5 separate regions of the Homo sapiens genome follow, and regions 1, 2, 3 and 4 are each linked to region 5. The links are contacts of gene promoters, found by promoter capture Hi-C in blood cells and fetal thymus (Javierre and others, 2016). All regions are on one chromosome and are shown on one strand. Each heading gives the region's core, a stretch centred on a gene start or on the middle of the fragment in contact. The rest is flanking DNA. Distances are from core to core; before and after follow the strand shown.

Region 1 (5,593 bases), core at 2,488-4,987, 560 kb after region 5:
CTGATGCTACAGCTGTGATCTATTCAACATTGTGTTATATTCTCTAATTTGTCATTTCGTGGCTTTCTAGTTCATGAAACTGTAGTAAATATTTTAAATCTGCTTTTAGAAGTTCTGAATTGAATATTTTTATTAGGAATACAGTGTAGCCTTTTATTAATATGGTCTCAAATTGTAAGAACATAAAGTAAAGCCAGAAACGTAGGTTGAAACAGAACTCCCAGATCCATGAGTTCAGATAAATTATTGTATAGTTTTCTAAAATACACAGGAATGATTTTTCTTTTTTTTAGATGTCTAAAAAAATGTGCTATCTGTAGTTATTAAATTGTCATTGCTAAATAAAGGTTGCCTTTGTTGTCCAGAATTATTAGCTCAATTGTATTCAGTCTGAATAATCTTAAAAAAAAAAAAAAGAAATAAACTATAACATGGTAACAGTTGGCACTCTTTTTCCCTCCTCTCCTTGCAGGCATTCTTTAGTGGCAGGCTGAAGGCCAGAGGGAACATCATGCTGAGCCAGAAACTTCAGATGATTCTTAAAGACTACGCCAAGCTCTGAAGGGCACACTACACTATTAATAAAAATGGAATCATTAAATACTCTCTTCACCCAAATATGCTTGATTATTCTGCAAAAGTGATTAGAACTAAGATGCAGGGGAAATTGCTTAACATTTTCAGATATCAGATAACTGCAGATTTTCATTTTCTACTAATTTTTCATGTATCATTATTTTTACAAGGAACTATATATAAGCTAGCACATAATTATCCTTCTGTTCTTAGATCTGTATCTTCATAATAAAAAATTTTGCCCAAGTCCTGTTTCCTTAGAATTTGTGATAGCATTGATAAGTTGAAAGGAAAATTAAATCAATAAAGGCCTTTGATACCTTTGTTTTTTTGTGATTTTCTGTTTTTTTATTTATTGATACCCCAGTTTTTATGTGAATTTCCATGTATGCACTCATTTTTCATACTTTGTTCTGATAGTATTCTCTTTTAAAGCAAGAGAAAAGTCTTTGTGCTCCCAAATAGTTTTCTTTCTTCTCCCCTCCCCTTTGCTGGAAATTCTTTACTACATATAATGTTTATAAATCTACCAAGTGTAGCTTTCTTGAAGAATCAGCAGTCTCAAAACAGAAAGATAGTCACTAGCAAGTACTGCCACATCACTGTTTTCCTCAGCATTTAGCTCTGATGAAGTGCACTGGGAGATGCTCTTTGGATGAGTTGGCTGCAGAGGTGACCAGCAGCAGGTGGTATGCTAAGCTCAGAGATGGAGTAAATTTCAATCAGGTAACACAGCTGAGGAGAATATGTGTGGGTGGCTAGTATGGGCTGAGTTTCCCAGGAAGCTGACTTTCAGATGGAGATTCATGTGCAGGAAGTTGATTTGGGAGGTGCTTTTATGAGCAGCACCTGCCAGGAGAAGCAAAGGAAGCAGAGCTGGGCAGATGGAGACATTAGGCTGTGGTTGCAGTTACCATAAGGCCTGGACTGATCTTTTGGGGAGCTCTGAAGCTGGGATGGCCATTCAGAATTGTCCTGAGGCAAGTAGTCATTGGTTATGACCTGCCCTGCAAGGGGGCCATGACCTTGGTCAAAGCGGCAGAGCAATTCCTGGAGTTGGCTTGCCCAGCAGTTGGGGGAATATGTCTTTTTTTTTTTCCTTAAAACTTTTAAGTTCAGGGGTACATGTGCAGGATGTACTGGTTTGTTACATAGGTAAACATGTGCCGTGGTGGTTTGCTGCACAGCTCATACCATCACCTAGATATTAAGCCCAGCATCCATTAGCTATTCATGCTGATGCTCTCCCTCCTCCCACCTTCACCCCTGCAACAGGCCCCAGTGTGAGTTGTTCCCCACCATGTGTCCATGTGTTTTCATCATTCAGTTCCCTCTTATAAGTGAAAACATGCGGTGTTTGGTTTTCTGTTCCTGCGTTAGTTTGCTAAGGATAATGGCCTCCAGCTCCATCCATGTCCCTGCAAAGGATATGATCTCACTCCTTTTTATGGCTGCAGAGTATTCCATTGTATATAGCTACCACATTTTCTTTATCCAGTCTATCATTGATGGGCATTTGGGTTGATTCCATGTCTTTGCTGTTGTGAATAGTGCTGCAGTGAACATTTATATGCGTGTACCTTTATAATAGAATAATTTATATTCCTCTGGGTAAATACCCAGTAATGGGATTGCTAGGTCAAATGGTATTTCTGCCTCTAAGTCTTTGAGGAATTGCCACACTGTCTTCCACTATGGTTGAATTAATTTATACTCCCCCCAGCAGTGTAAAAGTGTTCTTATTTATTCACAGCCTCACCAGCATCTATTGTTTCTTGATTTTTTAGTAATCGCCATTCTGACTGGCATGAGATGGTATCTCATTGTGATTTGATTTCTCTAATGATCAGTGATGTTGAACTTTTTTTCATGTTTGTTGGCCACATGTGTGTCTTCTTTTGAGAAGTATCTGTTCATGTCCTTTGCCCACTTTTTAGTTGGGTTGTTTTTTTCCTGTACATTTGTTTAGGTTCCTTGTAGACTATGGGTATTAGACCTTTGTCAGATGGATAGATTGCAAAAATTTTCTCCCATTCTGTAGGTTGTCTGTTCACTCTGATGATAGTTTCTTTTGCTGTGCAGATGCTCTTTAGTTTAATTAGATCTCATTAGCCAGTTTTTGCTTTTATTGCAATTGCTTTTGGCGTTTTTGTCATGAAATCTTTGCCCATGCCTATGCCCTGAATGTTATTGCCTAGATTTTTTTCTAGGGTTTATAGTTTTGGGTTTTTAAATTTAAGTCTGTAACCCATCTTGAGTTGGTTTTTGTATAAGGTGTAAGAAAGGGGTCCAGTTTCAATTTTCTGCATGTGGCTAACCAGCACTCACAGCATCATTTATTAAACCTATTAGAGAATCTTTTTTCCATTGCTTGTTTTTGTCAAGTTTCATAAAGATCAGATGGCTGTAGGTGGGCAGTCTTATTTCTGAGTTCCCTGTTTAGTTACGTTGCTCAGTATGTCTGTTTTGTACCAGTATCATGCTGAGGAATATGTCTTTCAATCCTGATGGGGCTTTGTAGAACTCAGCACACTTTATTTGAGGAAACAAGAATGCAAATTCAGGGATCAGGGGAGAAGGTTTCAGAAATTTGGAACTGTGATACTTAGAACAGTGATGGAACAGTAGAAGACCTCAATATGTTACTTATTTTAATGAGTGAACAGAATAAGTAGAAGGCATAGGAAGAAATTATATTTTTGGCAATTATGCCTTTGTCTCATGAACTGTATAGTATTTTTAAATTTATTTCAGAGTGATCTGTTGTTATACCAATTGAATTAATTGAGTTAATTGTTGGACATTTGGGTTGGTTCCAAGTCTTTGCTATTGTGAATAGTCAATGGCAGTATTTTTAATGTTGGTCTATTATTGTACTAAATAGTTGTTTATATTGAGCTTGGGAAAGCTTTCGTGTCCAATAGAAATAGCATATTAAAATAAATGCCACTGTATATTAATGAAAGTGTTGATTATATACCCTAGATACTTAAAACTTAAGGAAGTTATGTTTTAATTTTCTTACACATCTCTGTCAATATTTATGGTCAGAGAACTACTCATATCCAAATTTGGCAACTTATCAGTCATGCTCCTTAACCCTTCTGTAATATTTAATATTATCAAATGCCCCATCTTCCTTAATTCTTCTTACCTTTCAATGAGAAATATATTAACTTCTTAATGAACCTGTTAATCTGACTTCTACTTGTCTATTTTGTGATTTCCTTTGACTACCAGTGAAGTTCATTTAGAGAGTCAGTTCCCTAGGTTTTTACTGGGGTCTTATTCACATGGGCTCCTCTACCTGAACACATCCCCAAATTCCAGACTCAGGAGGAAAGCAGGTGTTTAGCATAAACCACGTTGTTTGTACAAACATGGCACAGAGAGCCACTCAGTGAGGGAATGGTGGGAAGCTTCCCAAAATTTAAGTTCCCAGATACCAGCCAGGCATCAACCTCAGAAGCATTCTAAGGGCAGCAGGCTCAAGGTCTGCTTTGTTAGCTCTTTTTCTACACTGATAGGATCAGCCCCAACCAAGCCACATGGCCTAAGAGCAAATCAGGTGTGATATCAGGAAATTTGGAGGACTGGAAAGCCATATCTCAAATATCCACCCCACAGGTTCTTTAGCTCTCTTAATTTGCTTCTTTACCTTAACATCAGGTAAACTATATATCCCTAAGCCTTCCAAGTGTCACCTGTGTGAGACTGTTCTCAATCGATCCTAACAGAATAATCTCTTGACTTCTCACAGAACTTTGTATATATTTTAAAGCAAACAATAAGAAAGCTGATTTTTTTTTCATTGGAAATAAATAGATTTGAATAGTATTACCCCAACATTTTAACTTTGCCTGTTAGGTCAACAAATAAAGCAGAAAAACTGAAAGATAATCCAGTTCCACTGAGAAATTCTGAAGTTCAGAAACTTCAAAAGCTGACAGTTATGGAAAGTGATTTTCTGAAGAGAAGAACATTTTAGGTCAATGTGGACTAAGCTATTTTTATGAGGGGAGAGGATAGAAAATAACCTATTTTACAATGCATAAATAGGCAAAATACAGAAATTGCAAGCCTTAGCTAAAAATGAGTCTAGATTTATATTACATGTATACATGGTATGTTGGTTGAAGTTGCCCAATTAAGTGATTTCTAGACATCAGGGTTAACGTAGCTTAAAAAAAAAGATAACCTGAGATTGCCGAGTGTTGAGGCACTAAAATTCAAAATTTAACCATGTAAGATCTGTTTGTAGCTTCATTCAAAATCCATCTTTTAAGAAGCTTGGTTACATAACTTTTAAGCCTACAGCTCACAAGAATGGAAAAACAGTCAAGTAGAAAGAACCATGTGTTGTTGCAGGGAGCACTGGCTGGGGGTAGTTTTTGTAGGCAGCATGGAAGAAGTCATAAAATTAACCCAGAAAACAGACTAAGAAGTGTCATTTGAAGTGAGGTTGAACAGCTCTATACACCTTAATCTCTTGAAGTTACAGGACTGTCAGTAAAGAACAATGATGGGTTAAATCAGGGGTCAGCATACATTTTCCGTAAAGGGCCACACAGTAAAGACTTTTGGCGTTGTGGGCCACATTTGGTCTCTGTACCGTATTTCTTAAAAAAAAAACAAAACAAAAAGAAAAACCTAAAATTGAAAAAGCCATTCTTAGTTTGCTAGCTGGACAAAAAACAGGCTAGGAACTGGATTTAGCTTGCAGGGTGGAAACTGGATATAGGTGCTGAGAGCCACTGGTTTAGAAAACAAAATTTTCAACTGTCAGCTTTATTTTTTTTAAAAATTTAATTTTTAAAAAATTTTTGTAAATTATTTTATTTCTTCCATGATGATTTAGTGGGACTATCTTCAAACCAGTACAAATATTTCATAAATAATATCTGGCTGTTTTCTAACCAATTGAGTAATATGTTCCACAGTAAGCCACCTCACCTCTTTGAGCAAGAAATACATTAAATTGGAATAGTAAAGACATTACTCAATGGATAAAGACAAT
Region 2 (4,355 bases), core at 1,229-3,728, 520 kb after region 5:
ACTAGTATCTGTTTTGGTCACCTTAAGCTTTGTCCTTTAATAGTCTTAAAAATTTATTTCATAATTTATCTCTGTTGATGTATGTGTTATTAACAACTGAAAGGAACGTTCGTGTATGTGCTCTAGACTTAGTGATTGCATATAATCTGTTATGGTTCTTATGATTATTGTTCTTTTCTCAGGTATTTATCTTTATACTGATTTTCATAAAGCAAACAATGTTAAAAGATACAGAATTTCTTGTAATTCATTTTTTTCTTTTTTTTTGGAGAAAATAAAAACAAGTCTTTAATAATCATTTTTACTTTTCTCAAAAATATCTTACTTGTTTAGTAAATCTCTTTTAATTTTTTTCACTATAATTGGATATATTTATTTCTCTACTTTGATGTTTGAATGTTGTCTAATTATATACTGGTCATATAAGGTGGTAGAATACAAAAAGGAATGTTTTGTTAATATTTGTCATTTCATGTTATACAATGTAGAGGTCGGCAAGTAGCTAGAATCCTACTTGAATATTTTTCTTAAACCTTTTTATTTTTCTAAAAAATGTATGAGATTTTTATTGCTTGAAGCTGAATAGCTTTATTTCAGTGTAAGTATTATAGCATAAGGTTTCAAAACAGCTCTTTTTATGTGAAACAGTACACTTTGTGGTGATTGTGCATTGATCAAATATCTGCTGGATACCCAGTATTTGCAAGGCACAGTATTAGGTAGTAGGTAATTTTCTAACCTGTCTGTATATCAAAATCACCCGAGTTATTACATTATATTATCTGTTAATTTAAGTAAAATGTAGATTCTCAATCCCAACCTTGGAAATTGTGTGTGTGTGTGTGTGTGTGTGTGTGTGTGTGTGTGTATGTGTGCATGTATGTATGTGGTGGGGTGGTGGTGTTGGTGACAGTGGCTAGGAAGCTCCTTACATGTTTCATATGTACCCAGCCCTATGGGTCCACTTGGAAACCATTGTTATAAGGGAAGTAGAAATGTGCAAGATAGGTTTCTGCCGTTAGGGATTTTAAAATACGAAAAGAGAGATTAGATGTATACTCCAGAGTGATGATAACTGAACAGTGATGTGAATAGGAAGGTGTAGAGAATAACTTTTTCATTTTTTTTTACCTCCTTAGCCTCAAGTTATATTTCTCATGAATTATTTTTTCTCAGCCTGTGCATTTTCTTTAAGCAGTTTTAAAATTTACTGTGTAGTAAATGTGAATGTTCAAAATATGAGATATTTGTGGTTTGGAACCTTTTAAACTGCAGAAAACCAAGGTCACGACTACTGTTTATAATCTACTACTGTTTATAAAACACACCAATTGATGAGACACAGAGTGTCAAGCATCAGGAGACTGATAACAACATCTCTTAATGGCTCATTTGTTGGCTATAGTGGTAGTGTCATAGGCTGACTTACCCTAATCATGTTAAAAATAACCACTAGAAGGAGTGAAGGAACGCAGCAGTACTTTCTTTTCTGTCTGTTTTTTTTTTTTGGTTTTATATAAACTTTATTATTTTAAAAAAGAATTTTAACTTTTATTTTAGATTCAGGAGGTACCTGTGCAGATTTATTACGTGGGTGTATTGTGTGATGCTAAACTTTGGGATATGAATGATCCCATCACTCAGGTAGTGAGCATAGTACCCAATAGGTAGTTTTTCAGTTCTTGCTCTCCCTACTCTAGTAGTCCCCATTGTCTGTTGTTCCCATCTTTATGTCCACGTGTACCCAGAGTTCAGCTCCCACTTGTAAGTGAAAACACACAGTATTTGGTTTTTTGTTCCTGCATTAATTCACTTAGGATAATGACGTCCAACTGTATCCATGTTGCTGCGGAGCACATGATTTTGTTCTTTTTCATGGCTGCGTAGTATTCCATGGTATATATGTACCACATTTTCTTTATCCATTTCACCATTGATGGGCACCTAGATTGATTCCATGTCTTTGCTATTGTGAATAGTGCTGCAGTGAGCATATGAGTGCATATGTCTTTTTGGTGGAATGATTTCTTTTCCTTTGGGTATATATCCAGTAATGAGATTGCTGGGTCAAATGGTAGTTCTGTTTTAAGTTCTTTGAGAAATCTCCAGACTGCTTTTCATGGTAGCTGTACTAATTTACATTCCCTCCAACAGTGTATAAATGTTCTGTTTTATCTGCAGCCTCACCAGCATCTGTTATTTTTTTGACTTTTTAGTAATAGCCATTCTGACTGATGTGACATGGTATCTCATTGTGGTTTTGATTTGCATTTCTCTGATGATTAGTGTTATGAAGCATTTTTTTTATGTTTGTTGGCCACTTGTGTGTCTTCTTTTGAGAAGTGTCTGTTATGTCCTTTGCCCATTTCTTAATGGGATTATTTGTTTTTTGCTTGTTGAACTACGTTCCTCATAGATTCTAGACATTAGACCTCTATTGGATACATAGTGTGAGAATATTTTCTCCCATTCTTTAGGTTGTCTGTTTACTCTGTTCATAGTTTAATTAGGTCCTACTTGTTAATCTTTGTTTTGATCGTAATTGCTTTTGAGGACTTAGCCATAAATTATTTCCTAAGGCTGATGTCCAGGATGGTATTTCCTATGTTTTATTCTAGAATTTTAATACTTTGAGGTCTTACATCTAAATATTTAATCCATCTTGAGTTAATTTTTGTATATGATGAAAGGTGGGAGTCTAGTTTCATTTTTCTGCATATGGCTAGCCAGTTATCTCAGCACCGTTTATTGAATAGGGAGTCCTTTCCCCATTCCCTATATTTGTCAACTTTGTCAAAGATCAGATGGTTGTAGGTGTGTGGGTTTACTTCTGGGTTCTCTGTTCTTTTCCATTGGTCTTTTCTTGTACCAGTGCCATGCTGTTTTGGTTACTGTAGTTTTATAGTATAGTTTCAAGTCAGTTAATATGATACTTCCAGCTTTGTTTTTTTTTTTTACTTGGGATTGCTTTGACTATTCTGGCTCTTTCTGGTACCATATGAGTTTTAGAATAGTTTTTTCTAATTCTGTAAAAAATGACATTGGTGGTTTCATAGGAACAGCATTGAATCTGCAGATTGCTTTGAGTAGTACGACCATTTTAACAATATTGATTCTTCCAACCCATGAGTATGGAATGTTTTTTCCATTTGTTTGTGTTATCTGATTTCTTTCAGCAGTGTTTTATAGTTCTCCTTGTAGAGACCTTACACCACCTTGATTAGATGTATTCCTAGATATTTTATTTTTTTGTGCTATTGTAAATGAGATTGCATTCTTAATTTGGCTCTCAGCTTGAATATTGTTGGTGTATGGAAATGCTACTCTTTTTTGTTCATTGATTTTGTATCCTGAAACTTTTACTTGACTCATTATCAGTTCTAGGAGCCTTTTGGTAGATGGAGTCTTTAGTGTTCTCTAGGTATAGAATGATATCATTGGTGAAGAGAGATAATTTGACTTCTTTTCCTGTTTGGATGTCTTAACATTTTTTTTTTTTTATTGCCAGATTGCTCTGGGTAGGAGTTGCAGTATTGTGTTGAATAGGAGTAGAAATTTAAGAAAGAATGGGGTAAACAGTATTGGTTGTATGCTCAACAAATGTTTGTTGAATAACAGGGTCAAAAGACACCAAGAGGAGTCCTTGACATTGCCAATGGTTATTTAAAAAAATCTAATGTATCAAATATTGATGTTTGAAATTTAGCGATTCCGGTATTCTGACTGCTTTTACTGTTGAATTATTTTTTCTAGTGAGTTCAGGAACATTATTATTATTTTTTATTATACTTTAAGTTCTGGGGTACATGTGCACAATGTGCAGTTTTGTTACATAGGTATACACGTGCCATGGTGGTTTGCTGCACACATCAACCCGTCACCTATATTAGGTATTTCTCCTAATGTTATCCCTCCCCTTGTCCTGCACACCTTGACAGGCCCCGGTGTGTGATGTTCCCCTCCCTGTGTCCATGTGTTCTCGTTGTTCAACTCCCACTTATGAGTGAGAACGTGCGTTGTTTGATTTTCTGATCTTGTGATAGTTTGCTGAGAATGATGGTTTCCAGCTTCATCCATGTCCCTGCAAAGGACATGAACTCATCCTTTTTTATGGCTGCATAGTATTCCATGGTGTATATGTGCCACATTTTCTTTATCCAGTCTATTATTGATGGACATTTGGGTTGGTTCCAAGCCTTTGCTATTGTGAATAGTGCCACAATAAATATACGTGTGCATGTGTCTTTGTAGTAGAATGATTTATAATCCTTTGGGTACATACCCAGTAATGGGATTGCTGGGTCAAATGGTATTTCTAGTTCTAGATCCTTGAGGAATCGCCACACTGTCTTCCA
Region 3 (5,355 bases), core at 1,897-4,396, 540 kb after region 5:
TACTTGAAGGGACAGCATTGTTGGATATAAAATCTTATTTCTTAAAAATGGTGCATCATTGTTGTCTTACTTTGTATGTTGCCTTTGAAAAGTCTGATGCCAATCTAATTATCTTCCCCTGTAAGTTACTTGATCTTTACCCTGAGGCCCTCAAGATTATTTTCGTTTTTAAAGTCTAATGGTTTTGCTGGGATATGTCTCAGTCTTGCATGTTGCAGGTCAGTCTTCCTTATATACCTGGTGGGCCTTTTTAATATGTATATTCATGTCTTTTAGTTTTATAGTATTAAAATTTTAAATATTAGTTCTCTTTCACTGTTTTGCTTTTCTTTCTTTGGGTATCCATTTATATGTATGTTGAATCTTTTCATGTCTTTCAACTACTTTTCTTCTGTTCTTTTTTAGTTGCTTCTTGATCTCATTTTCATTCTCATGGTTCATTTCTGCCCTTTCTGCCATCCCCTTATTTAATTTTTATTTGAATGTGTTCTCCTTTGGGTACCTTATAATTTAGTCTTCATTTCTTATATGATTTTGATTTTTTCTTTCCATTTCTTTCTTGAATTTAATCATTACTTATTTATTTCTTCATGTATGTCATCCATTTATTTTCTTAGTTTTTGGATTTTGGATTCAGAGTGTTTGTTTTACATCCCCAAATGCTTGAGTGTTTTGTTACAGTTTTCTTCTGTTTGGCAGTTTGTTTATTTGGAGGGGGGGTGGATTTTATTTACTAAAAGGTTTTGTTTTGCATTTTCAGTTTTGGTTTTTTTTTTTTAAATATATATGTATTTTTATTATACTTTAAGTTCTAGGGTACATGTGCACAATGTGCAGGTTTGTTACATACGTATACATGTGCCATGTTGGTGTGCTGCACCCGTTAACTCGTCATTTACGTTAGGTATATCTCCTAATGATATCCCTCCCTCCTCCCCCACCCCACAACAGGCCCCGGTGTGTGATGTTCCCCTTCCTGTGTCCAAGTGTTCTCATTATTCAATTCCCACGTATGAGTGAGAACATGTGGTGTTTGGTTTTTTGTCCTTGCAATAGTTTTCTGAGAATGATGGTTTCCAGCTTCATCCATGTCCCTACAAAAGACATGAACTCATCCTTTTTTATGACTGCATAGTATTTCATGGTGTATATGTGCTACATTTTTTTAATCCAGTCTATCATTGTTGGACATTTGGGTTGGTTCCAAGTCTTTGCTATTGTGAGTAGTGCTGCAATAAACATACGTGTGCATGTGTCTTTATAGCAGCATGATTATAATCCTTTGGGTATATACCCAGTAATGGGATGGCTGGGTCAAATGGTATTGCTAGTTCTAGATCCCTGAGGAATTGCAATTTTAGTTTTATGTTAGTGTTGTACAGATGAAGAATATTTACCTCTGTGCGTTTTGTGGTTTGGGGTGGTTTCCAAGATTCTTAGTTCAAAATTGCCCTTTCTCTCTGTGTAGCAACATGCAATTTCTTTAGTGGGTGGCTTTAAAGAAGGGGCACTGTGGGGAGGTGTTTTATTTTTAAAAATAAAATAAATTATCTTTCAGGATCATTAATTTCCTCTCTTGCTTCTTTTTTTCTTCATCCAGTCTCCAAAGGTGATATCTTTGTTTTATTCTGTTCTCCCCGAAAGTGATACCTTTCTGGAATTGCCACTGGAAGACTAGTGTACTATTAATTATTTTCATTGTAGTCAGTGCTGTAATCTTCCAGGATTCATTTCAGTATTTTTGCCCTTAAGATGGATTTATCTGGGAGTGATTTTCCTTTTCCCTCTTCCATGCACTGCTTTTGCACCCCCCAAGCCCTGCCACTCTGCAGTAGCTTTCAGAGGGTGCTCAAAAGTTAGCACTGATAGAAAAGTGGTGTTTATTTTGAGACTTACTGGAATTTGAACTCTGCAGTGTTCTCTGTCTTCTAGTTACACTGTAGGCTTGAGATTTGTGTAGTTTTATTTGTTCTCATTATTTGTATTTTTTTTTTCGAGGATATGAGGACTTAAAAAGCACTAGTTTCCTGAGCCTATTTATTTAGCATTTAGTTTAACTTAATGGTACAATTTTAAAAAATCAAATTAAGGAATAGTTTACCTGTATGCAGATTATCCTCCCACCTACTTTTAATATGCAAAATAATATATAGCTATTTTTCTTTTTCTTATTTTTTTGGTGGTTGTTATTTATAATGACTTATTTCCAGGCAGAAATGAAACGAAACAAGAAACTTTTAGCTTTCCTTCTGAAATATGCCATTTCTTCAAAATACGTAGAAGATAAGCTTTGGCAGTGGTCATTATTAATTGAACAATGCTTATTTTGTGTTATGATTGAATGGGTCAAACATCTAGTCAGTTGGCTTTTGTCATTTCTCATAATGAACCTTTTTTGTCTTCGTTTAACTCTGTTATCTATAGAAAGCAATGCTATCATTGAAATAATGTGAGATATTTCATATTAATACGATTTCTTCAGAACACTGTATTCATTTATAGGAATGATATATGTGGGATAAGAATACTAGTACTAATCTTAGAAACTTGGTTGTTTGTATTGTTGCTATAATCTTTAAAAAATAACTAACATTTATTGAGGTATTATTTATCAAAGATAATACCTTGTAAGCTTTATCCCACCTTTTTCCAACTACTCTGTGAGAGTAAGTTCTGTTAGCCTCTAAATGTTTCTAAATGAGCAATTGAGGCTTCGAATGGTGAAGAAACTTGCCCATTAATGGTAGAGCTGGCTTTGAATCTAGATCTGACTAGTACCAAATCCCATGATCTAGCATGTGTTTGATAATTTCCTGTCACAATTTCAGGCCCTGAAATGTGTTTTTCTTTCATTTGTATACATCATGATATATATTTGCTAACATTTTATTATATAAAGTGCTTTTAAAAAATTATCATTTACTTCTCTTAGCATCTCATATGGGACCTTGCAAGTCACCAGTATTCAATAATTGTTTATTTGATTTCATTATATTAAGAAGACATGTAAAGGAAAGAATATTGAGTCATTGGGAAAGTAAATAATCTATAGAACCATTATATGGAGTCATGGGGAAGGAAAAGAGCTTATTGGAATTATACAAAGCATATTAAAAAGAATGATGCTTTCTTATGAATTATAGAATATTTTCTATAAATAAAACTTGTTAAAAATAATCAGTAGTTTAAAAGTAATAAAAGATCAGTAATTTTAAAAAGATATGGCTAGTCTTTACACAGCATTTCAGTAGTCTTTGGAAAACAGCACAGCAATTAATGAGAAAGGGAAGAAGTCTTGAGGCTGACCTAAAAGGGTCGGTCAAGTTTACAGATACATTAAATACACTTACTATTAGCTGTTTGGTGAATTTCTTCCTTTCAGTGCTGGTAAGTGCTTTCTAACTTGGAAGAATGTACCATTTAAACGCCAGAAAGTATGGTGACTTTTTCCCTATTGTTATCCAGGCCACGCTGCTAATCCTACTTTATCTAAGTAAACTAGTGATGTGGAAATCTGGACTCAGCAGAACTTTTATCATAATAGCAAGCTATCAGTTCAGTCAGTTTTCTTGCAGGGTGAGCTAATGTTCAGGATTTAGTGTACCAGCAGAATGAAAGTTAGTGAGAAGTCTTTGATGTTTCTATGTCCGATATTGTCTTAGAAGCTTCAATTTAAAACACCCCAGTAAGAAAGTTGGCATAAATTTTGCTTGCTTAGAGCAGACTATAAACATTTACCTTATCTGTGTATAAATGGGAGTAGATTGACTGACTTCTTTTTGTGAATTTCTCCTTAGGTAGTAGTAACAGTGTTTTACCTAAATATAATTCTTGGCTTCCCTTTCTACATTTTTTTCCCTCCCACTGATTTTAGTGGCAAGTGTTAAAAAAACATTTCATTATAGGTAATCTTTATTGTTAAAAATAATTATTTTTAAAATCAGAGCCTCAGGTACATTATGATACAATGCTTATACCAATAACCAGCCATGTTTCCTATTTTTCATTTAATGTATTCTAACAAAACACTGAGTTCTAGTTATGTTTATGCTTTCTCCACAGGCTGCTTTGTACCGCCTCAGTGGAGACTGGAATCCCTTACACATTGATCCTAACTTTGCTAGTCTAGCAGGTGAGTTGTCTTTAATATGTATCAATGAAAAATATTAGCTATTCGATATTTAATTAAATAATGTAAAGACACTACTACTTATGACTGGTAGTTTGAGTAGCATTTAAAAAAATGTTATTTTATTTATTACATTTATGCAAAGGATATGGAAAGGTAGGAAATGTGTTCAGAAAATAGTGCACTTGAAATTCAGATTATGGTGGAGGGAAGTTCCCGCTAGTGCGAGGTCTAGGATAGGACCACGAGGGTGGGTGTGTGAGTTATCACAAAGGACAAGGTCATTGGAGAGAGAGCAAGGAACTGAAAGGTTAGGGAAGGATCATGTACCTGTGTGGATGTTGAGAGTACCCTGGATGATTTCATGGTTACAACCAAAACTAAACAAAACAATTGTGTTTCCAGATCTCTCACATTCTTTTCCTGTTTTGTTTTTTTTTTTTCTTTCTTTCTTTATTTCATAATTTCCTCCCAGGAAATACTCTTTAAAAAATATCTACTGTGTTTCTTAAAATAGATGGTATAATTCCTGCTAATGCAGTCTAAGGACATTTTTAAAGTCCTGAATTAACTACACTTGATTTTTAAACTTTAAAGGTACCTGTATCTAACTCAGTGTTCTCTCTTTTCCTAGGTTTTGACAAGCCCATATTACATGGATTATGTACATTTGGATTTTCTGCCAGGCGTGTGTTACAGCAGTTTGCAGATAATGATGTGTCAAGATTCAAGGCAATTAAGGTAAATGTGTATTACTACGTAATTTGAATATTACTTCCTTTTTCTATCTTTAGAGAAGAAAAGGGGTTTTAGTGATTTAATTGAAAATAGATATTGTACTACAGCAATGTACATTTTTATTATTTCATTGACCTGGCAATCAGCACACTTTCTTTTTGTAGCTATAAATAGCTCTGTTGCACATGCACCAGGAAGGATGCACAGTTGCAATTTTGACAGATTAACTGGGTTGCTTTATAAATTAATTAGGTGCATATATTATATATATATATATCAGTACGTATGCCTTGAAAACTCAAGATTTGCTTTTTTTAACTGTTTTATCATTTTCATTAATTTAATTAAAAATGTTAAGTGGCTGATTAAGTCCAATAAACATACATCTACAGCAATATAATGACTGCATATTGTTTTAACTCTGTACTTTTTAGTTGATTTCAAATTTTTATCCATTATAAATAACAAGGAAAAATATCCATGCCCAT
Region 4 (5,550 bases), core at 520-3,019, 760 kb after region 5:
ATTGGTTGCAGTCATACAGTTGCCTTATTTGGTGTATCCCATTGGAAAATGCCTAGTTACATAAGTATATGTTTGTTGGTTGCTTCTGACTTGTCGAGCTTAAATTCTGTTTTTCTTTAACTTAGGCATTTACAAGAAATAGTTCAAGTTAAGTTTCACTTACGTTTGCAAAGCAAGCAAGGTTAAGGTTCCTTATGAGGGCCTAACTGGCTTTGTCTGTTCAGGGATTCTTTAGGCTTGGTCTCCATTTTAAAGTGCTTTAATAGAATTAGCAGCAAATGATGGGAAATGTACCACCATTGTTGACCCTTTTTGCAGAGTCCACATCTAGAACACCATGACCCATATAATACTTGCCCTGCCTCTCACTTTTGGAAAGAAGTAAATGTCTAGTAGGTCAGGTTGGCTCCATATCTCATCTGAAATTGAGTGACATATTATTTGAACACCATAACTTTGATGATAGACTCAATCCTGTTGTCCAGCCCGTATCCCAGGCCAATTAAGTCAGAATCTCTGGGGATAGAAACCAAGCATGAATATTTTCAAAGCTTCCCAAGTAAACTTAGAACAACAACAGGCCTTTATGATTCCATGGATCAGAAATCTGGGAGAAGCTTAGCAGGTGTTCTTAGTGGGTGGTTATGGCTAAGGGTGTTTCTTGCGGTTACAGTCAAGGTATTTTTTTTTTCTTTTTTTTATGGGACGGAGTCTCCCTCTGTCGCCCAGGCTGGAGTGCAGTGGCGCGATCTCAGCTCACTGCAAGCTCTGCCTCCCAGGTTCACGCCATTCTCCTGCCTCAGCCTCCCGAGTAGCTGGGACTACAGGCGCCCACCACCACGCCCAGCTAATTTTTTTGTATTTTTAGTAGAGACGGGGTTTCACCGTGTTAGCCAGGATGGTCTTGATCCTGGCTAACACGGATCCTCATGGTCTGCCCGACTGGGCCTCCCAAAGTGCTGGGATTACAGGCATGAACTACTGCGCCCAGCAACAGTCAAGGTATTGATAAGGTGTTGGCCAAGGCTGCAGTCATCTTAAGGCTTGAATGGGGCTGGGGATTTGCTTCCAAGATAGCTCACTCACATGGCTATTGATAGGCAATCTTAGTTAGTTTCTCACTGACTGTAAGAAGGAAGCATCAGCTTCTTGCTAAGTGGTTTTTGTCTCTCTCTAGGGCTGCTTGATGGTTCTTGAAACATGGCAGCTGGCTTCCCCTGAGTAATTCAAGAGAGCAATGTAGATGCTCTGATGTCTTTCATGATGTAGCCTCTTAAGTTATATGCCAATATTTCCACAATATCTTATTTGTTATATCGGTCAGCCCTATTCAATGTGAGAGGGGACTACGAAAGTCTTAATGCCAAGAGTTTAGGATCATTGGGACTGTCTTGGCTGCTACAATGGGATACTAATGAATAAATGATTTGTCCTGATTTCAAAAGTGGATGCTTGGTAGGCTAAATAATGAAATCCCAGGCTTGTGGCTTTCTTGAGGAACTTACATTGGAATCAAACTACTCTGTAGAGCAGCCCTATCAATTTCTGAAACACCAGGTGTCTGGGCGGAGCCTTTGGTCTATCTTAAAAAACATCATTCAAAGGCACAATGTCCTTTAGTGAAGTCCAACTCTGCCTCAAACTAATTTCATTCAGATTCAGATCAGCTGGGATTAGCAGCTGATGCTTAGCAAGCAAATAAATTAGGTGTCAGCTCTATTAGTACTGGTTCTTCTGAAAGTGAGAGGACTTATTATAACTACCAATTGTATATAGCTATAAAAGAGCTCTCTAACGTTAAGAAGTATACTGAATTATATAAAAATTGGGGGTTTCCTTCTCACCTTTTGCCAGCTTTCTGAGTATGGAAAAATAAGGGTTTTCAATGCAGTCCTGCAGTCCTTAGTCCTCTCTCTTCTTCATAATTGTCACTGCTGGAGTTGTTTCCTCCAACCAAACCAAATATTATCTATATACTGATATTGCTAATTTTTAGTCCAAATCCCATACCAAGTGCTGGACTTGCACAGCCAACTTCCTATTCAACATCTATCCCCTTGTGAATGACTACTGGGAATCCCAAATTTTATTCAAAGCCAAATTCTTAATTATTTCTCTATACTTGTTTCTCTATTTTCTTTCTTAGTACCTGAAATTCCATTTTTTTCCAGTTGATCAGGCAAAAGTTTTGGAGTCATCCTTGCACCTCTTTTTCTCTCATTCTTCACATGCAATAATCCATCTACAATGTTTTAAAGAATTCTCCCTGCAAAGTCTCTCTCAAGTCAAATTATTTTTCACTACTTCTACCACTACTATGCTGGTCCAAGGTATCCTCATCTTTTGCCTAGAAGTGCAACAGTATCTTAATGTATCTCTTTTCTCTAACTCGGTCTTTAAAACTAATTTTCCATATAGCATTTTAAAATGGGAGGCAGATGACAGTTTTCTTTTTCAAAATCTTCTGATGGCTTCATATATCTACAACTGTTATTTTGTCCTGTGATGCCTAACATGATCTATTCCCCATTCCTCTTCCACTCTCATTATCTCTCTGCCCTTATCTCTTACTCTCTCCCATATGCACTCCGCTTCACTCCACTCCACTTCACTCTCAAACTGGCCTTCTTGCTATTCTTTGCACACTAAGCATACTCATTCACCCTCAGGGCCTTTGTGTTGCCTGTCCCCACTGTCTAGAACTTCCTCACTACCCCTCATACTGCTTGATTTGCTTTCTTCCTTCTTTTATATCTCAGCTTAAATATCTTTCTAATAAAGAGGAATTTTCTTCCCTCCATATATAAAGAGTATTTTATTCAACCTCATGAATTCCCCTTACTCTATTCTTTTTCCTTCAAAATATTTATTATTACTTGATGTCCATTTCCTCATTTTATTGTGACAACCGTAATAGAATGAAAAGCTTCATCATGACAGCACCATTTGCAGTTTTGGTCTTTGCTGTATTGAGAAATATTAGAACCAATCATGGAAGATAGTAGGTACTCAATAAATGTGGTTTGAATGGAATTAGATTACATTTATTCATGACATTTCCTAAAATTTCATGTTCATATATCAAGACTGTCCTCTGAATAGCAAAACCAAAGTAAAGTACCACTGTGCCAAATATTTAAGGAGCAAAGTTACAGAATAAAAGGGGATCTTTAATATGTTCACTATTTCTTAAATTATCAACCTGAATTCAATATATCTAGGATTGATGAGCAAAATTATGAATTTAAATGATCATAAGATGTAACAGTATGTTTAATTTAAAAGACATTGTAGAAAGCAGACTTGTAAAAATCTTAAAAAAGTAGACTTTTTTCTAAAAAACAGACAAAAAAATGCCAGCACAGTGATAATTCAGGAAGTTTTATTTAATAGCAGCTGGTGTCTCTCTGATATATTAGAAAATACAATTAATTTTTTACACAATATTATACCGAAGCATATTTTGCTTTCATATTCTTGGAAGAAAATCCACTAGCTTAGGGCTACCAACCTGGCAGGACAAGTCAGTTATCAGACAGAGTAATCCAACACACCAAACAACTTCTATGCATAAATGGCACAATGATATAAACGGTGGCTGTGTAAAGTAAATTTGTTTGTGGAATTAAGGGGGTAGTATAACCACCCTAAGAGTGGTAGTGCTAGGGAACCAGAATAAAATCAAAGAAAGGAACAAGAAAAAGAGGGGGATTTCCTCTTCCGCTCTCATTACCTCTCTGCCTTTATCTTTTACTCTCTCCCATATCCACTCCACTTTACTCCACTCCACTTCACTGTCACACTGGCCTCCTTGCTATTCTTCGCACACCAAGCATACTCATTCACCCTTCAGGGACTTTGTATTGCCTGCGCCTGAGAGACAGGACTAGCTGGATTTTCTAGGCTGACTAAGAATCCCTAAGCCTAGCTGGGAAGGTGACCACATCCACCTTTAAACATGGGGCTTGCAACTTAGCTCACACCCGACCAATCAGGTGGTAAAGAGAGCTCACTAAAAAGCTGATTAGGCAAAAACAGGAAGTAAAGAAATAGCCAGTCATCTATTGACTAACAGTTTAGCTGGAGGGACAATGATCGGGATATAAACCCAGGCAATCGAGCCGGCATCGGGTACACTCTTTTGGTCGCCTCCGTTTGTATGGGAGCTCTGTTTTCACTCTACTAAATCTTGCAACTGCACGCTCTTCTGGTCTGTGTTTGTCACGGCTGGAGCTGAGCTTTCGCTCGCCATCTGCCACTGCTGTTTGCCACCCTCACAGACCCGCCACCGACTTCCATCCCTCCAGATCCGGCAGGGTGTCCGCTGTGCTTCTGATCCAGCAAGGCGCCCATTGCTGCTCCCGATCGGGCTAGAGGCTTGCCATTGTTCCTGCATGGCTAAGTGCCCGGGTTCATCCTAATTGAGCTGAACACTCGTCACTAGGTTCCACGGTTCTCTTCCGTGACCCACGGCTTCTAATAGAGCTATAACACTCACTGCATGGCCCAAGATTCCATTCCTTTGAATCCCTGCGGCCAAGAATCCCAGGTCAGAGAACACAAGGCTTGCCACCATTTTGGAAGCAGCCCGCTGCCATCTTGGAAGCAGCCCACCACCATCTTGGAAGCAGCCCACCACCGTCTGGGGAGCTCTGGGAGCAAGGACCCTCCGGTAACATCCCCACTGGGGATGTAAATATATAAATTTATATATATATAAATAAATATATAAATTTAAATATGCTTTTTTGAGGACTTCTTGGGCTGTTACATATCTAATTTTTTTGTCAGAATAATGAAATATTGTTAGAAATTCTTCATTTTGTCCAGCCTACCAGTTGATAGAGCTGTGAGAATTGGTTCTTAGATTGAGAGATGGTAGAGTTTATGCCCCTCTTATGTTGATGAATTCAATTATGCTGCTGTCAACTTCTCAGTTACTGGTTTTTTTACCTCAGCCATAATATAGGTCATGTCTACACAGATAAACAAGTTTGAGAGATCGATCAGTCACCACAGCAATTAAGTAAAATAATTTAAAGCTGGAACTAGTTTGGAATTTTGGCCTGATGTATCCAGCAATTCAACAGATACTTAACTGGTTTGTTTATGTGGATACAACCATAGCAGCAGGCACTTTTTCTGCATGATCCTGTGCTACTAGTGACTTCAATAACTAAGATAAATGGGCCCAAAGAAGAATGAACAATGAAGAACTTTAAAACTGCTTTTAAGAATCAGGGATCTTAGCAAGATGGTGGATAGGAGGCAGGACCAGCTTGCAGCTCCAGCTCGGACAGACACGTAAACACTCATATTGTGAACTTTTGCTACAGAACTGCTGCAGGAATATACTAGGAAAGCTGAGAGAATCCACAGACCCTCTGAAGGAAGTGGATTGCTTCTGCAGGACCCAAGAAACAGCCCAAATACTGTGAGTGCCCAAACTGTGACAGTGGGAAAAGAGGATTGTCTGCCCCCAAACACACCCTCACTGGGGAACCTGGAGGTATAGATCATGGAAAATGGATTTGACCTTACCTGGATCTG
Region 5 (4,869 bases), core at 1,814-4,313:
GCATTTTTATATATATATATATATATATATATATACACACACATATATACATACATATACACACGTATATTACACTTTATTTCCTAACAAAATTAAAGACTCTAGTAAAATCTCAGAAGCACTACTTGGTGAACATGCATCCTTTTGCCTTCTGACTCTTACTCCACGACGGCCTAATTTCGAAGACTGCCAAAGGATATCAAACACATATAAAAAGTGTTTAAATCTTTCCACTCTGATGTCATATAATTTAAATAAGAATGTTTAAATTAGCAAGATGATTTTAACTTGAACAAAGTTATTTTACAAATACTTTTACTTTGAAAAGTTCAGAAAACACTTTTTGCTGTTTTCTTCAGAGCTTCAAAAATTTGATGCGGTTCATTACCTATAATTTGAAAAAACTGCCCTACATCATAGGATTTTTAATCTGAGGGCTCCCCATTTAAATAGATATGCCACTTTCCACTAGATCCTGATATTCAGGAGAACTGAAGTCATCTCTTTTTCATCTTTGTATTTCATAGCCTATCACACCGTCTGGAAGAAGGGTCTCCAAAAATATTTGTTGAACAACTGAATTTTACCAAGTAGTTCAACAAATCTTTTGTGCACCTACCATGTCCCATGACCCTCAGCCTTCTTATGTTATCTCAAATAATGCTAATGATACATACTCTGGGGAGATCAGCCAAGGTTTTGTCTTTATCTGAAAAAAAAAATTATATACGTTTGGGAATGGGGGATAGGAAAGGTATTCTAAGAGGTAAATGGAATACAGGCAGGTTTTGTAAACAAGACATACATAAAGGACAGAATACATTTATAGAATCTATATCTTGCAATAATAAATTACAAGTTTGGGATCTTTTAAAGAATATTCCATTCATATTTAAGATATGTTATATTTATAATGAGCAAGATTCTGCTGAAAAGTTAAACTGAGTTTGCACTTCCTGAACAAAGCTAATTTCTGGAACTCCCCTAGGCTGTGACATTTGTAGTAATGTGTTCAGAGAAATGAATACAGTTTAAGTAAATAGCCAAATAACTGTGACTCAATGATCAATCAAATCTAAGAATGCATTTTTAAAACTATTTTAACCATAAATGTAAAGAAGTTCACCCAGGGTACTAGTAGAACTCTAATAGCATAATGAAATAAAATATAAAAAGCCATCAATTCATTTATATTTTATTGACAACACCTAAATATTCTCCATAATTCTAGAATTATATTCTACCTAGTTAAAGCAAATAAAATGCATAGCAAGAGGGAGGAGAGCTTTTCACAGGTAGCAAATTTCACAAGAAATAAGCAAAGTGTAGAATTATAGTCTACCTAATTAAAGCAAATAAAATGCATAGCAAGAGGGAGGAGAGCTTTTCACAGGTAGCAAATTTCACCAGAAATAAGCAAAGTGCAGAAATGTTGGGGAAAATTGTAATCCTAAGGTATTAACTAAACGTAACTGAAAAAAAGATTAAATTCAGCAAGCCATTTTTTTAAAAAAGCATCATAAAATAAATCTCTGCTAAACAGATTTTTACCTATATATTTATAATTAACAATTCTGAACAGACTAAAAACTAAATAAAACTAGCACAGTAATTTAGCCTTTGATTTATATTTGAAACACTTTTCCTCCAGTATCCTATTGAGACCCCTCCAAACATTTTTAAATGCTTCCCCAACCCCCTCAGACGACTTGTTTAAATTAATTGTATTCACAAACCCCTATGTTCAAATTCACAGTCCCTTCTAATCACAAATTTTCCATCCTCCTCAGAGGTTTACTGAGCGTCAACTATACATAGTACATTTAGAAAATATAAAAACATTCTACATTCAAGATCCTTTCCTCTGAAGTCTTACAATCCAGCCCTAGGAAAAGGTCAAAATGTCCAAAGTGTGATACTCCAAGTATTCAAGCAGTAAAGATCTTCAACCATATTCAGTCCTTCTGTTCCCCTTCTTGGAATGCTTTTCCCCTGGCTGGATTCTTCTCATCTTTCAAATCTCAGAGATAGTTCATGACACCATTGAGCTATTTTCTACAGTAGCAACCCATTCCTTTCCTTCACTGCTTTTTTCCCAGTTTGTAATTACATATTTGATTGCTTGTTTGCTGGTTTATTATCCGTATCCAGTAAGAGAATACTCTACAAAAACATGAACTCCACTGCATTGTCAGTGATTACCAAAGCACTCAATAAACACCTGATAAATTAATGCACAGGTCTGGTGTTCCGAAGAAAGGTCTGAGCTAGACACACTGGGATATAGATGATAATTTACCATGAAAACTGATTTTATAAATTACCAGTGGGACGTATGTAGGGTTTGAAGAGAACCTAGAATGAACACCTGAAAAGGCCCTATATTTAGAGTTCTGGTAGGATAGGTAAAGGAGACTGTCTCTCTCCTCCAATCCACTTTATGCTTTTTAACTGTGATATAACTATGCCACTTAAATATGACTGTGTAACTATTTTACAAGTATTACTGTCATCACCCCTTACTTCCCCTATTGGACGCTTAAGTTTCTTGGAAACAGAACTGATGTCTGCTCATCCCATGATACGCTCAGCATATTGCAGGAAGTAAGGTTAGATAATCATGAACCTGGAAAAAGGGCTTCTTACTAGGTAGCTGTGCCTGGCATTTCCGAGATTTCCAACGTGCACCCGCCAACTCCGCCGCCCTAATCGCAGAGCTGCCCGAGCCGCCGACTCCCCGGCAGGGGGCGCCGCACCCTCCTCCGAAGGCCGCTGCCGGCTGCAGTCCCCGCCCCCAGCCCCGCGGTCACCTGCAGCGGGTGCACTCAGGCCTCCGCTCGGCCGGCTCCACCGGCAGCTCCCACAGCCCGTCCGCACTGTCGTCGTCCGCCTCTGCGCCCAGGGCAGCCGCCGCCGGCACTGCGCCGCCCTCCCGCCGCTCCTTGTCGTTCGGCGTCTGAGAGCTTGAGGCCCCAGAAGGCCGCGCAACGGGCTCCTGGAGTGTTCGTGCCTCTTTCTGCGACTCCATGGCGGACACTCCGGTCAGGCCGTGGCATTGAAGCCCGGCTGCCGCCGGGGGGCGCCACGCGCTGTAGAAACCGGCCCGCGCCGCGTAGCGCAATGCCCGCACGCCACGTACGGGGGGCGGGTCTCCGAAGCCCAGGCTGGAGGTCCCACCCTGCCGCTGGGAAGGAACGAGCCCATTGGTCCGTGCCCAGTGGGACCGTTCACCTAGAACTGGGTAGGCAAGTGTGGGCAGTGTTGGAGTGCTGGTGAGGTTAAGTAGCGTCATTGGGAGAGGTAAGGGAAACCTCCCCGAGAGGACCCCAGTACCAAGCCCGAATTTAACTCCTTTAAAAGTTAAAATAAAATGGAATTCTGCATTTTCCGCCTTGGGATGGCAGTTTAAGAATTTGCAGGATTTCCACGCGTGCATGCATCGCAGGTGCGGCAGCTGATGCACTTATTATTTAAAGGCCAACAAAGGAGAGGTTATATCCACTGGGAACTACTCACAGCTGGTCCGTTTCCTTATGTGAATTTCCTGCTCTTCTATGTCTTGTGCTAATAAGACATCAAGCATGCTATTTTACACTGGACACCAGATATTTGTTAAATTAGATTTTTAGATCGTCCCCGATCAGGAAGCAATAGGAGAGCTGGCCCGGGGTACCAATAGGTTTTATGTATGAGGAAACAAGCCCTAGAAAGGTAACGTTGCCCAGGTATTTAACAACTACTGGATACGGCGGTATATAGCACAGCAGCTGTTTTTTAAAAGCCAAAATGAAATCTATGTTAGAATGAAGGCAGAAATACTATTTACCCAAAATGGGTATCGAATTCCTTTTGTTTATTAATGCTTTGTGTTACTTCCAGCAATACACAACATTAAAACAGAATTAAGCTTGGTTTTGATCAATCATGTGAATTAAGCTTAGGAATCACAGTTGTCTTAACTCTATAGTTGTAATAGATTAAATGTGAGGCAAAGTAGACAACACAGTAATAGAGCAAATACTGTATTTCTTAAAATGTTTATTTCACATTAGATTTTTCAGTCATCTTAAAATCAAGTTTGTGAATAAAATACCGTGCTGTTTTCAACTATCCTACGTTCTTTCCCCCCGGAAACAGCACCTCTCTTTTCCTTTGGAGCGTCCTATGTGAGGGATAGAAAAAGGCTGAAACACCCACCTGGTGATGGACGTAGAGTGGGAGAAAGAACTAGCAATTATGCCATTTGGAATCGGAGGATAAACAAAATCCAGAAACTGTAGGAAAGGAGATGAATCAGAAAATTCATCTTGTCTGTAGATTTAGGTTGGGGAACCAATTCTTTAACTGCCAAAATTAAATTCTCATGTGACTTATCTTTAAACGAAAGGAAGCTGCTCATCTTTAATTTCAAGAGGTGAAATGTGCTCAAGTCCTCTAAGGTCCCTTGAGACTCCCAATTGTGTGGTGTGAGAAGACAGATGATAAGGAAAAAAAAAAAAACTTTTTATCTAAGGAATGCGAGCAGTCATGTCTCACTCTCCCTTGAGCTAAATAATTACCTCTTGAAGGCACTTGCTATGCAGGCCCTAGACTGACACCGAGTAGCCATAAAACGCCGTATACCCTATAGTTCAACAATATGTATAGCCAATCACTAACCAATGTTATTTCTGTAAATAAATGACACTTCCTGAGACATAGCTTTTGTAATGCCCCCCTCTGCTGATTCGTTCTCTTTTCTTTAAAAACTCCAGCCCATTTTGTTCTCCAGAGCACTCTCCACAGCAACCTGGAAGTACGACCTAGGCTACAGTCCTCAACGTTGGCCCAAATAAACTCTCTATATTAATTTTGCCTCTGCTCCTTCCT

Evidence for each region. The method cuts DNA at HindIII sites, captures the fragments that hold promoters and counts their contacts. A CHiCAGO score of 5 or more calls a contact.
Region 1: a fragment that was not itself captured here is called in contact with the fragment with the promoter of DTWD2 in region 5 in 3 of 17 cell types (erythroblasts, total B cells and activated CD4 T cells); the score reaches 6.1 in erythroblasts.
Region 2: a contact is called between a fragment that was not itself captured here and the fragment with the promoter of DTWD2 in region 5, in 7 of 17 cell types (non-activated CD4 T cells, total CD4 T cells, activated CD4 T cells and 4 more). The highest score is 10.4, in non-activated CD4 T cells.
Region 3: a contact is called between a fragment that was not itself captured here and the fragment with the promoter of DTWD2 in region 5, in 5 of 17 cell types (naive B cells, total CD8 T cells, non-activated CD4 T cells and 2 more). The highest score is 8.6, in naive B cells.
Region 4: a fragment that was not itself captured here is called in contact with the fragment with the promoter of DTWD2 in region 5 in 2 of 17 cell types (total CD8 T cells and naive CD8 T cells); the score reaches 6.6 in total CD8 T cells.

Annotation. Positions count from the first base shown.
Region 1 is chr5:119,541,433-119,547,025 of GRCh38, forward strand. It overlaps HSD17B4 (hydroxysteroid 17-beta dehydrogenase 4), which reads left to right. Exons shown (of 24, transcript NM_000414.4): 24 at 473-900. The coding sequence ends at 562. Among named protein-coding and RNA genes, the nearest start is that of FAM170A, 85 kb to the right of the region's middle. The HindIII fragment of the contact is 511 bases long and covers 3,483-3,993 here.
Region 2 is chr5:119,502,248-119,506,602 of GRCh38, forward strand. All of the region lies in intron 14 of HSD17B4 (hydroxysteroid 17-beta dehydrogenase 4), which reads left to right. Among named protein-coding and RNA genes, the nearest start is that of HSD17B4, 52 kb to the left of the region's middle. The HindIII fragment of the contact is 4,906 bases long and covers 26-4,355 here.
Region 3 is chr5:119,521,154-119,526,508 of GRCh38, forward strand. It overlaps HSD17B4 (hydroxysteroid 17-beta dehydrogenase 4), which reads left to right. Exons shown (of 24, transcript NM_000414.4): 18 at 4,063-4,132; 19 at 4,764-4,870. Among named protein-coding and RNA genes, the nearest start is that of HSD17B4, 71 kb to the left of the region's middle. The HindIII fragment of the contact is 1,033 bases long and covers 2,631-3,663 here.
Region 4 is chr5:119,747,276-119,752,825 of GRCh38, forward strand. No RefSeq gene overlaps it. Among named protein-coding and RNA genes, the nearest start is that of FAM170A, 120 kb to the left of the region's middle. The HindIII fragment of the contact is 2,309 bases long and covers 616-2,924 here.
Region 5 is chr5:118,985,484-118,990,352 of GRCh38, forward strand. DTWD2 (DTW motif tRNA-uridine aminocarboxypropyltransferase 2) reads right to left here and starts at 3,064. Exons shown (of 6, transcript NM_173666.4): 1 at 2,811-3,064. The coding sequence starts at 3,028. RefSeq lists a silencer at 2,648-2,977. The HindIII fragment of the contact is 4,492 bases long and covers 1-3,905 here.